Regions from separate parts of the Homo sapiens genome. Here region 1 is linked to region 2. The links are contacts of gene promoters, found by promoter capture Hi-C in human tissues and cell types (Jung and others, 2019). All regions are on one chromosome and are shown on one strand. The core of a region is centred on a gene start or on the middle of the fragment in contact, and the rest is flanking DNA. Distances in the headings are between cores, read along the strand shown.

The links. The method cuts DNA at HindIII sites, captures the fragments that hold promoters and counts their contacts. A contact is called where the count stands out against the background at its distance.
Region 1: a fragment that was not itself captured here is called in contact with the fragment with the promoter of MTA2 in region 2 in 1 of the 25 tissues and cell types used here (dorsolateral prefrontal cortex).

What each region holds. Positions count from the first base shown.
Region 1 is chr11:61,809,211-61,814,695 of GRCh38, forward strand. FADS1 (fatty acid desaturase 1) reads right to left here. Exons shown (of 12, transcript NM_013402.7): 2 at 4,033-4,143; 3 at 3,261-3,458; 4 at 1,764-1,865; 5 at 1,541-1,669. Among named protein-coding and RNA genes, the nearest start is that of MIR1908, 3.3 kb to the right of the region's middle. The HindIII fragment of the contact is 3,503 bases long and covers 2,329-5,485 here.
Region 2 is chr11:62,600,449-62,606,150 of GRCh38, forward strand. It overlaps MTA2 (metastasis associated 1 family member 2), which reads right to left and starts at 1,417. Exons shown (of 18, transcript NM_004739.4): 1 at 975-1,417; 2 at 174-241. The coding sequence starts at 1,002. It overlaps EML3 (EMAP like 3), which reads right to left. Exons shown (of 22, transcript NM_153265.3): 13 at 5,615-5,702; 14 at 5,407-5,532; 15 at 5,194-5,325; 16 at 4,665-4,732; 17 at 3,665-3,753; 18 at 3,496-3,593; 19 at 3,281-3,368; 20 at 2,701-2,799; 21 at 2,311-2,441; 22 at 1,770-2,230. The coding sequence ends at 2,027. RefSeq lists enhancers at 288-998, 433-482, 1,863-1,912, 2,421-3,130 and silencers at 733-812, 893-992, 1,063-1,112. The HindIII fragment of the contact is 13,173 bases long and covers 1-5,702 here.

The sequences.
Region 1 (5,485 bases), core at 2,830-5,329, 790 kb before region 2:
AGTTCAGATGTCGGCACCCGAAGGAGGCCATATCTGATCATGACTACCTCTCAGTTTCTGTCATATTTTACTGTTTTTAATCTGTAAGTTACGTTGAACTCTGTTTACAATTTTTTTTTGGTTTTAATCTTTTTAAAAAATTATTATTTTTACACACAGGGTTGCGCTGTTACCCAGGCTGGAGTGCAGTGGCGTGATCATACTCACTGCAGCCTTCACCTCCTGGGCTCAAGCGATGCTCCCACCTCAGCCTCCCAAGTAGCTGGGACCACAGGCACATGCCAACTGCGTCCCTTCATTCTCTGTTTTTGATGTCTGCTGATAGGAATTTCCTGAAAACCCAAGTACCAAGAAGCAATAAAGGTAGTGGTGTGAGACTGTTCCCTTCCACTTAACCTGCCCATGTCTTTTTTTTAAACCCTCTGTAGTGACAGTAGAAATGCACAAGCCCCATGCCACTGCCCAGCAAATAACCACACTGCCCTTGAAGCAGCCATGGGAGTCAGACGGGGGACAGGGCTGCTTCGTCATCTGCATAGTACTGACCATAATGGTATCGGACATGTAACAAACCCAAGTCCATGCTCATGATGGGAAAATAAGAACATTATGGACAGGTGGGGCATGAGCCTCAAGCTATGAGCTCCTCATGCCAGGCCAACCAGTGCTGCCAAAGCCCTTTCAAAGTTCTCATGGCCAGGGGCGAGAGGAACGCCAGGCTACCTTGAACTCATGCCTAGAACTGAAATGTGTTTTAACGACAATTTAATTCCTCGCAAGCTGAAATGTCACAAAGTGGAGGAGGTGGACCTGGAAGAACTCTGCAGCCTACAGCCTTGGGACAAAGGGCTTTAAATGAACTTTTCAAAGAATTCTGCTGGCCTTTTAGAACCTTCCATTGCCTAATGCTCACTAAAAGCTCACCAGATCTCCACCCCCAGGCATTATTCCTTCAGCAGCTACATTATTTCTGCTTACAACTTCAGACGACATCTCAAACCCAACGCTGACCACCCAGGAAATCAGGCTGGGGATCAGCAGGGTGGGAAGAAGTACTCAGTGAATGAATGTTCCAGATATTGGACATGAAAGAAGAGTAAGACAGTCCAGCCCTGGACAGAGAAGACTGTGACAAGAAGGATACCTAAGTGTGGGAGAGAAATACAAAGTGCAAGGGGAATACTTGCCTGGGGCAAGAGTGTCAAAAAAGCACCTCCAGGAGGTGCCATCAGCACCTTCAAGGATAGGCTATCTCATCATTTGGATCCTTCTGGTCATCCGCTGGATCCTTTGCAAAATGAGGTGCCTTTTATGCAGTAACGGTTTGCTGACTGAACTCTCTAGGGAGGATGGTGACTCCCTCCTGGGCAGCCCCCATCTATTGCCTGTTGCCTTCCAGAACTTCCAAAATGGCAAAAGCCCCAGCCAGCCCAGCCCCAGTGTCTTGCCCACACTGACAACATCGTGGGCATCTTCCCCAACTCCCCTATGTTGGCTGCCTCCTATTCCCCAAGACCTTTCCACTGATACCTCCACGCACCTCCACAGAGAGGATCTTCCCCAAGGCAAAGAAGAAGGGATGCATGTTGATGTCTGGGTCTTTGCGGAAGCAGTTGGGCTTGGCATGGTGCTGGAAGTGCATGTGGTTCCACCAACTGGCGGGGGCCCCCTACAGAAAAGCAGGGACACGAGTATGAAAAGCTTCCCCCAAGGCAGCCCTTCATTGCCTGGAGTTTTAGAGAGCTCCTCCCCATCCCACTGACCTTCAGGTGGCCAATCACAAAATGATGTAGCAGATGGTTCCACTTTGAGGTGCTGAAGACCGACAGGTGCCCAAAGTCATGCTGCAGCCAGCCAGCCTGGGCCTAGGTGAGAAGAGTCAACACTGAGAGCAGCCCACCAGCCCCAGTGTCGCCTTCACTGACCTCGATGCCTCCTTCAGCCTCTCCCACTTCCTTCATCTGCCAAGGCCTGTGATGCACCTCAGGAGTCAGGAAACATGGGTCCTAGTTCTGCCTCTGCCACTGACTCACACGTGAGTTGGGGCAAATCACCATCCCTTCTCTGTTCTTCTGTTTCGCCAGCTCCGAAGCTCATGACTTTTTTTTTTTGAGACAGTTTTGTTCTTGTTGCCCAGGCTGGAGTGCAATGGTGCGGTTTCAGATCACTGCAACCTCCGCCTCCTGGGTTCAAGTAATTCTCCTGCCTCAGCCTCCCAAGTAGCTGGGATTACAGGTGCCCGCCACCAAGCCTGGCTGATTTTTTTGTATTTTTAGTAAGAGTCGAGGTTTCACCATGTTAGCCAGGCTGGTCTCGAACTCCTGACCTCAGGTGATCTGCCCACCTTGGCCTCCCAAACTGCTGGGATAACAGGCGTGAGCCACCATACCTGGCCTGTTTTGAGAGTGTCGCTCTGTTGCCCAGGCTGGAGTGCAATGGTGCCAACTCGGCTCACTGCAACCTTCGCTTCCCAGGTTCAAGCAATTCTCCTGCCTCAGCCTCCCATGTAGCTGGGATTACAGGCACCCACCACCACTCCCAGCTAACTGTTGTATTTTAATAGAGACGGGGTTTCACCATGTTGGCCAGGTGGTCTTGAACTCCTCACCTCAAATGATCTGCCCATCTTGGCCTCCCAAGGTACTGGTATTACAGGCGTGAGCCACTGTGCCTGGCCTTTTTGTATTTTTAGTAGAGGTTTCACCACGTTGGCCAGGCTGGTCTTGAACTGAGATCAAGTGATCCGGCCACCTTGGCCTCCCAAAGTGCTAGGATTACAGACATGAGTCACCACACCTGGCCTGAAGCTCATGACTTATGATGGACTGACATCTAGAATACAGAAAGGACTGAAACATGAGCAGAAGGCTTGCCAAATGGGTCCTGACAGTCAAGAATTAGCGCTCAATCATTATTAACATATTGGGCAATGTCAGTGGTGGGGAGGGAGCCAAGCTTTGCTAAGAAACCAGAAACTTGGCTCCTGGCACAGGTGGGCTGTGGCAGAGAACAAACCGCATAGGAAGAAGAGAACCCTTGGAGAAGCAGCTAAAAAGGCAGTGAGAGAAATGAAGATGTCCATGTGGCTAAAGAGCAGACAGGTCAAGACAGCAGAATGCATGTTCCTGCACTCACTCCTGCATACCTTCAGATCTGCCCTGCTTGGAGGGCAGGCACTCTTGGCCTTCCTCAAACACCCAAGGAGCTTTCCCCAGGGATGCTGAGCATTGCTGTGCACTTGACAAGCCAAAGGCTCTCACCTGAACTGCACTGAGCAGCACCGCACAGAGGAGGAAGGGCAAAAAGGACGTCCCAAAGACCCAAAGGGTGAGCCAGGCTGCACCATCCAGCAGCAAGATGTGCAGCAGGTACAGCAGGAAGAAGACATGGTTGGCCTTCATGAGCCCCATCCGCTCCACTGTGGCCCGCAGCTCCCGGAACTCATCTGTCAGCTCTTTCTGCAGAAGAGGAAGAGGAGCTGTTATTCTTCTCATCTGCACCCCAATGCTACTGGAGACAAGGGCCCTCTCAGGCTCAAGGACCTCCCACTGAGGTAGCTGTGGGAAGTCCACAGTCCTAGGCAAAGATACCACGACAATGAGGATGACAGGAGGAGGTGCCATGGGATAGTGCCTAAGAGTTCAGGGGACTAAGTCCTTGCTCTGCCATTTACTAACTGTGTGATCCTTGGCTGTGTTGCTTAACCTCCCTGAGCCTGTTATCTCATCTGTAAATGTGTAAGAGTTATGAGTTTATGCTTGGTGCATAGTAAGTGCTCATATGATAACAATGATGATAACAATGATGGCAGCCATGGTAGTGGCAGCCTTGGGGGAGCCATAGGTTGCAAAGCCATGCTCCCTTGGGCCTGTGACCTCATGACTATGCAAGAGAAGCAGGGACCTCAAGACTCCCCAGAGCTACTACTGACTGTGATTACTATGACTGTGATCCCATCTAGACTCTCCTTCCACCCCCTCTCTGTCCCCCTCAACAACCAATAGTTGCGACATAGCAAACACAGGGTCTTACATTCTTGGTGGGCTCAAAGCTGGGCTGCTCTGGAGACAGTTCTCCAATCAGGAGAGAGTTCATATACTTCTTCACAAGGCCCTTGTTGATGTGGAAGGCCACAAAGGGATCCTGCAAGTGCCGGGAGAAGATGAAAGGTGAGGGAGCCAGCCCCCTGGACTCCGGCAGTGTTCGCACCAAAGGCCATCCTCCTGCCCGCCAGAAGGCTGTACCCAAGTTGAAGTGAGAGGTGAAGCCAGATGGACTTCCTGGGTCGAGTGCAGACTTGGAGAACTTTTCTGTAGCTAGAGGTTTGTAAAATGCACCAATCCGTGCTCTTTAGCTAGCTAGAGGTAAAATGGACCAATCAGCACCCTGTAAAATGGACCAATCAGTGCTCTATAAAATGGACAAATCAGCAGGACATGGGCAGGGACAAATAAGGGAATAAAAGCTGCTCCCGGCCGGGCGCGGTGGCTCACGCCTGTAATCCCAGCACTTTGGGAGGCCAAGGCGGGTGGATCACGAGGTCAGGAGATCGAGACCATCCTGGCTAACACAGTGAAACCCCGTCTCTACTAAAAATACAAAAAATTAGCCGGGCGAGGTAGCGGGCGCCTGTAGTCCCAGCTACTCGGGAGGCTGAGGCAGGAGAATGGCGTGAACCCCGGGGGAGGGCGGAGCCTGCAGTGAGCCGAGATCGCGCCACTGCACTCCAGCCTGGGCGACAGGGAGACTCCGTCTCAAAAAAAAAAAAAAAAAAAAAGGCTGCTCCCCCTCACACCCCCCAACGTCCAGCAGCGGCAACCTGCTCGGGTACCCTTCCACGCTGTGGAAGCTTTGTTCTTTGCTCTTCACAATAAATCTTGCTGCTGCTCACTCTTTGGGTCCACGCCACCTGTAAGAGCTGTAACACTCACCGCGAAGGTTCATGGCTTCATTCTTGACGTCAGCGAGACCACGAGCCCACCTGAAGGAACCAACTCCTGACACAGAAGCACAGGCCATCTCCCTAGGCCCAGCTGCCTTTTGAGGGTGCTCCCAGGTGTCCACAGTTTAAGATCACCGAGTATCTGCTCTAGTTAGAAGGATGCATCAAGGAATGGGAAGCATTGGCTGAGGGGAACCACTAAGAAACACCTGCCTGGGCTGGCCTTTCCCCTGGGTGTGTCCACAGACAGCTTTTGCCCAAGAATTTCAGTATAGGTGAGAAACAGGAGAGATGGGTGGGGCTGTGTCGGGCGTTGGTTCCTTCCGGCGGGTATGGTCTCACTGACTTCAAGAATGGAGCCGTGGACCTTCCCGCTGTTATAGCTCTTAAAGGAATAACACTCTTTGCAGACCCAAAGAATGAGCAGCAGCAAGGTTTAGTGTGACGAGCAAAAGAACAATGCTTCCACAGCCTGTAAGGGAACTGGAGCGGGTTGCAGCAGCTGGCTGGGGTGGCCAGCTTTTATTGTCTTAGTTGTCCCTG
Region 2 (5,702 bases), core at 167-2,666:
ACAGAATAGTAAAGTTCCTGCTAACCTCTCAATAGCCTTTCCTGAATACATCCAATGAATGAATGAACGAATATGAATGGGTACTTAGTATAGGATCCTCTCTTCCACCAGAAGTTAGAAACCTCAGAAGAGACCACTGCGGGAGGGAGGGAGAGGGATTCTGCTCCACTCACCTTGTTGAGCTCCTCAATCCGTCTAACCAGGTAAGGATTGCTGGAAGAGTTCTCAAAATAGACGTAATCTGTAAGGGAAGGGAGGGGGGAGAACCACGAAGATCAGAGGAGATGGGAGACGCAGAGCACCAGGGTAGGAGAGAAAGTTGGCCTGAGTGGATCAAAAGGAGATAAGGATTCAGGTAGAAAGGGCGCTGAGATGTGAAAGTGGACAGACTAAGAGAAAATAAGGATGTCCCCCATCCCCACCGCACCTAGTTCTAAAATTAGATCCTTTACTCAAAAGAGAGCCTTAAGGAACAGGCAAGAAGCAGGGGTTCCCCTGCAGTCCCCACAACTCAGCGATGAGTTGCACCCCAGTCGCGGCGAAGTAATTGTCCGCTCTAGCGCAGGGCCCCTACCTTTTCGAATCGAGGCGCACAATAACGCCTGGGAAGAGGAAACCTCCGGGCGGCTCCCCCGCGGTGGCAAAGCCGTCGCCCCAGCCCCTCGCGTTCCCTCCCTACCCTGTCAGCTCCTTCGGAACCGGTTCCGAAGGCCACTCCGTGCCCCGGGGAGCCCCTGACGCAGCCCCGAAAGTGCCGTCGGGGCTGCCCGCAGCTTCTCTCTGGGAGTCTCGGAGCCCTGCCGCGTCGCGGTTCCCCGCACCCTCTCTCCTCGTCTCCCGGTTCCGGTTCCGGTCCGCGCTCCGGTCCACGCTGCCCCATACGCTGCGCCTCGCGCCACCCGGTGCCGAGCCCCTCAGGTCCCTACCCCAACCTCTCCCGCCCCGGGCCCCGTATCCCTGCGCCCGGTACTCACCTCCCACCCGGTACATGTTGGCCGCCATGGCCGTTCCCGCCGCCGCCTCCGGCCGCACAAAGGGGTCCGGGAGGCTCGCGGGGGCAGGGCTCGGCTCGAGGCAAAGCCCCGAACGGTGGGCTGCCGCTTCGAGGGAGTCTCACTGGGGCCCGCGCAGCCGGCACCTCCGCTGCCTCAGCCGTCGCGGTTCATCCCGGCCCGCGCTGTCGCCGCCGCAGCTATCGCCTCACTCCCGGGACGCTGAGGCTGGCCCCCGTCCGCTCGGCTTCTTCCGGAACGAGCTCGGCTCCTGCCAGGCCAGAGCCAGGCTCCAGCTACCCCCGCCCCCGCGGAGTCCCACTAGTCGTTGGGCTCTGCCGGCCGCAGGGAAGGCTTGCCGGGCCCGCCTCAGGGTTCGCCTCCTTCCGGAACACCTTCGGCCGATCCGGAGAACAAGGCCCACTGCTCGGCTCAGGTCGGAGAGCGAGACCCCGCAGATCGGCTACTTCCGGAAGAAGTTCGGCTCCTGTCGGGCAACCGCTCGGCTATTTCCGTCGCAGCTCGGCCCCACCCCCTTTTCCGAGGGCGGGAGAGGAGTCGGGCTTAACTCTGTCCTCGCTGGAGCCCTGCAGCTCCTCCTCGCGCCCCAAAGACTCGCGCGCCTTAGCGCTTCGCCAGGTTATTTGCAAGCGGCTTTGCCTGTCATTTGCATAAATGGTCTACGCTCCCTTACCCTTTCCGCACGCCTCTTTTCCTTCGTCCCCACCCCACAGAGCCCCGGAGGCGCCCGGCAGCGCCCCACAAAAGCACCGGGAGGCGACTTTGGTTCTGGTTTATTGCCCCTCAGCAGGCAGCGGGAGTCAAGGCCTAGGCTGGGGCTGCCCGGCTCAGCCAGCGGGTCTAAACAGTGTGTGCAGGGGCGCCGTTCGCGCCCTCCAGGAAAATGCGCGATCGGGAATGTCTCGAAGTCAGTCCAGGAAAGAGTCGGCCCCTAGTCGTGGGGGATTGGGCCAGGGAAGGGCAGGGCGGGGCGGGGCCACGCCGCCGGGCCAGTCGGTCCCGCCAGGCAGCGATCAAACGTCGAGGGAGGAGGCGGGGGACAGGGAGGGGGTTCGAGAGGGCGTGGCGGGCGCCGGCCCCGCGCCCCCAGCGCCCAGCACTCGCCACTGGAAGATGCTGGCGTCCTTGCCGCCCAGCGAGACGAGGTGCGAGTCGTCGTGCGTGAATCGGACGCTGGTCACGTGGCTGCCGTGGCCCCCGTACATGCGGCTCGGCGCCTGGGCCGGAGGGAAGAGTTGCGGTGGCGGCTGAGCCCTCGGGCCCACCGGTCCCACCCCGGCGATCCCCGCGGCCTCACCTTGGCACGAGCGCACGGGTACTGGAAGAGATGCACTTTGCAGAAGTCGTCGGCCACCGCCACCACGCGCTCGTTGTGGGAGCGGCACAGGGAGTTGATGTCGGTCCCATCGGAGCCGTCCGGCCAGACGCCTAGCACAGCGGCCGGCCTCAGCCCGACCTCCTACCCACCGCCACCCACGGCCCAGAGCTACACCATTTCAGGCGCTCCGGCAGCCGCGGCCACCCACTGCCGCGTTCCAGGCAAGCCTTCCCGGTCCCGAGGGGCCTCCTGGGCTGGATCTTCAGGTTTCTGGACTCTCACCCAACGACACACGCCCAGCGTTCCAAGCCCAAACTGGGCTCCACCTTGTCCCCCACCCTTCCAGCAGGTTTCCACGCCCCTGCTCACCGTAGACGTGAAAGCCCAGCACACAGGTGTAGGTAGCCCATTCCCGGTCTCGGCTCTCATAGCGATTCTTCAGCTGCTTGCAGCCTCCAGCCACGTCCCCTGGGGAGAGGGAGCCCGCCCAGCTCAGCTCTCACCCTGCCCTCAGTAGGGAAGATGCCAGGGAAAGCCAGACTGGAAAGACTGGCATGAAACCCGGCGATGGCATGTGATCTGGTCACCGTAGTAGCATCACCTCCTCCCCCTGTGAAACCCACCCTGTGTGCGTCCTGTCCTGAGCTCTGGCTGAAGTTCTAACAGCTTCCACGAGTTCCTCCTCCCTAGATAAGTCAAGTGCTCCACACTTGCCCTGAGAAACTTTTCCCAAACAATCTTTTCTTAGCGCATTTTTGAACTCCCTCAAGTCAACAAGACATGGTGTGAAACTAGTTGTTTCCAAATCACGAAATTTCTCCTACATATAATTCCAACTCCACTTTAACCCCATCTCCACTTCCTTATCTAACAACACCTCTAACAGCCCCCCCTACACAAAACCCACTCCAATTACCCTCTCCCCATGTCCTGCTCCACTGCCACTCACAGTAAAGAATCTCATAGTCCCCAGAATTGGACATGATGAAATTCCCATCCTTGGACCAGTCAAGATGAGTGATGAAGCTGGAGTGACCCTGGGAGCAAAGGTCAAGAGTTTTAAAGTATCCCATCCATTTCCCATCCCCAGAGCCCCCTTGATGCATCAGACCCCTGAGTTTCGCAGCTGTTATCATGCCCCACCACACACCCCAACTTCCTCACCATACAGCGGCCAAAGCGGCTGGATTTGGCACCATCACTGGAAACACTATAGATGTAGATCACGTTGTCATGGGAACCAATGGCCAGGTACAACCCATCTGCAAATACAGTCACTCAGAGAGGGAAGGGCCAGGGACGCATGTGAGTCCAGGGTTGGGGTGGCTCCCACCTGGGCTGTACCGGACCACTGAGAGCTGCTCATTGCCATCAATGACATCAGACACGATCTCTCTGGTCTCTGTGTCCAAAACCAACCACCTGGAAGGGAGGGAAGTGGAGGCAGATAGGAAGACGAAAAGGCAGGATGTAAGGAGACCCCCAGGGAGGCCACCCTGGGTAGGCTTGGGGATGGCAAATAAGAGAAGCTCAGAGACACACACAGAAAGGCTCTGATGTAGAAGACAGGTCACAACTGCATTCTTCTTTTTTAGTTTGTTGTTGTTGTTGTTGTTGTTTTGAGACAGAGTCTCACTCTGTCACCCAGGCTGGAGTGCAGTGGCAAGATCTCAACGCAACCTCCACCTCCTGGGTTCAAGTGATTCTCATGCCTCAGCCTCCTGAGTAGCTAGAATTACAGGTGCGTACCACCATGCCCGTCTAATTTTTGTATTTTTAGTGGAGACGAGGTTTCACCATGTTGGCCAGGCTGGTCTTGAACTCCTGACCTCAAGTGATCCACCCGCCTCAGCTCCCAAAGCGCTAGGATTACAGGCGTGAGCCACCGCACCTGGCCACCACTGCATTCTTATGCTGAGAAATGGGAAGGAGCTAAGTGTGGATAAAGGCTGAGGGGCTTCTGATGTCGTCTGAAAAAGTAATCTGAAACTACAGACCAGGGGCCGACTACAAAGGCACTGTGCAAGCTGGAAGCCTGTCACTTCCCTGTGTTTGTCTATGCCCCTCCCATTCCCACTGTTTCTCTATCCTGGGCTGCTGCCTCCTCCACTCCCAGGCTTGGAGGAGACACTGGGTTGGGGGAGGGGGAGAAACAGTTACCACAGAAGAGGAGGGGAGCCCGGGTGGCAGGGGCTGCAGGGAGAGGCACAGAGGAGTGCCAAGGCGCAGGTGGCTCCTGGGTAGAGGTGGTCACTCTCGCCCACTCCCCCAGTACCAGGAACCCTTCCCAGTCCTCCCTGCTTTCCCTCCTGGGAGTCCTGGCTCTCTCTCACCTCCCCGTGTTCAGTCCTACGGCCACAACTGCCCCACTCGGGTGGAAGTCAGCACAGAGACCAGTCTCCTGGGAGAGGGGAGAAGGTGAATTCAAGATGATGTCTTTCTAGTGAGGGAACCAGAGTGAACCCCTTGTCCTCCTAACTTCAAAGCCACTTACTCCCAAGGAGAAGATGGGAAGAGAGGGAAGGGATACCCGGGTATCACTGGAGCCTGAACAGGGAGTGATACCAAAATATTTAACCACAGAACTGATGCCAATAGCTGTGCTGGAGATTAACCATTTAGGTGCTGGATCAAGAGGAAGTCTGAGGGGTTCTGGGGGCGGCAGGGAGTGCCCAGGTGGTACTAGAAGCATCAGCTTTTACCAGTCAGTACAGAAAAATTAATATTTGAGTAGCCAGTGCAGCCATACCAGTACAAACTGGCCACCTCTGGGAGGCAGAAGGCAAGGTGCTGGGGAAGGCGTGGTGGCCACAGGTGTCCTGGTGGGTGTGGCATGGGGGATCCAGGGGCACAGGGCTCTACCTTGAGGTCGATGCTCCAGGCCAGTGCATGGCTCTCCCCATCCCACAGGCAGAGCTGCCGGTCGTGGCCGCAGGTGAGGAAGCGGTTCTGGGAGGGGTGTGTGCAGAGCCCCCAGAGCTCATCAGTGTGGCCCTGCAGCACAGCATGACTGTCACTCCTGCCCCTCTCTCACACCCCTTTGTCCCTTCCTCCCCTGAGCCCTTAACCCCCAACCTGGATTACAGGGGAGAAGCCCTGGGCCAGGTCTCCCCTCAGCAATGCATTCTTCGTGGTTCCCACCAGCAGCTCAGAGCCAAGCCCTTCAGCAATGGCTCGCACGGCCCCGAAGTGCTCGGGAATCTGCAGAGTGGTAGCAGAATGTCAAGAGCCCACTGACTATTGCTCTTCTCCCTCACTCCCTTGACCCCAGCCCAGCCCTCACCTCAGCCTCCTGGAGGGCCACCAACCCGGGCCCCCACTGTACCAGCCGGCGGTCCCGCCCGCCACCACTCAGCACTGTCCCGTCCCTC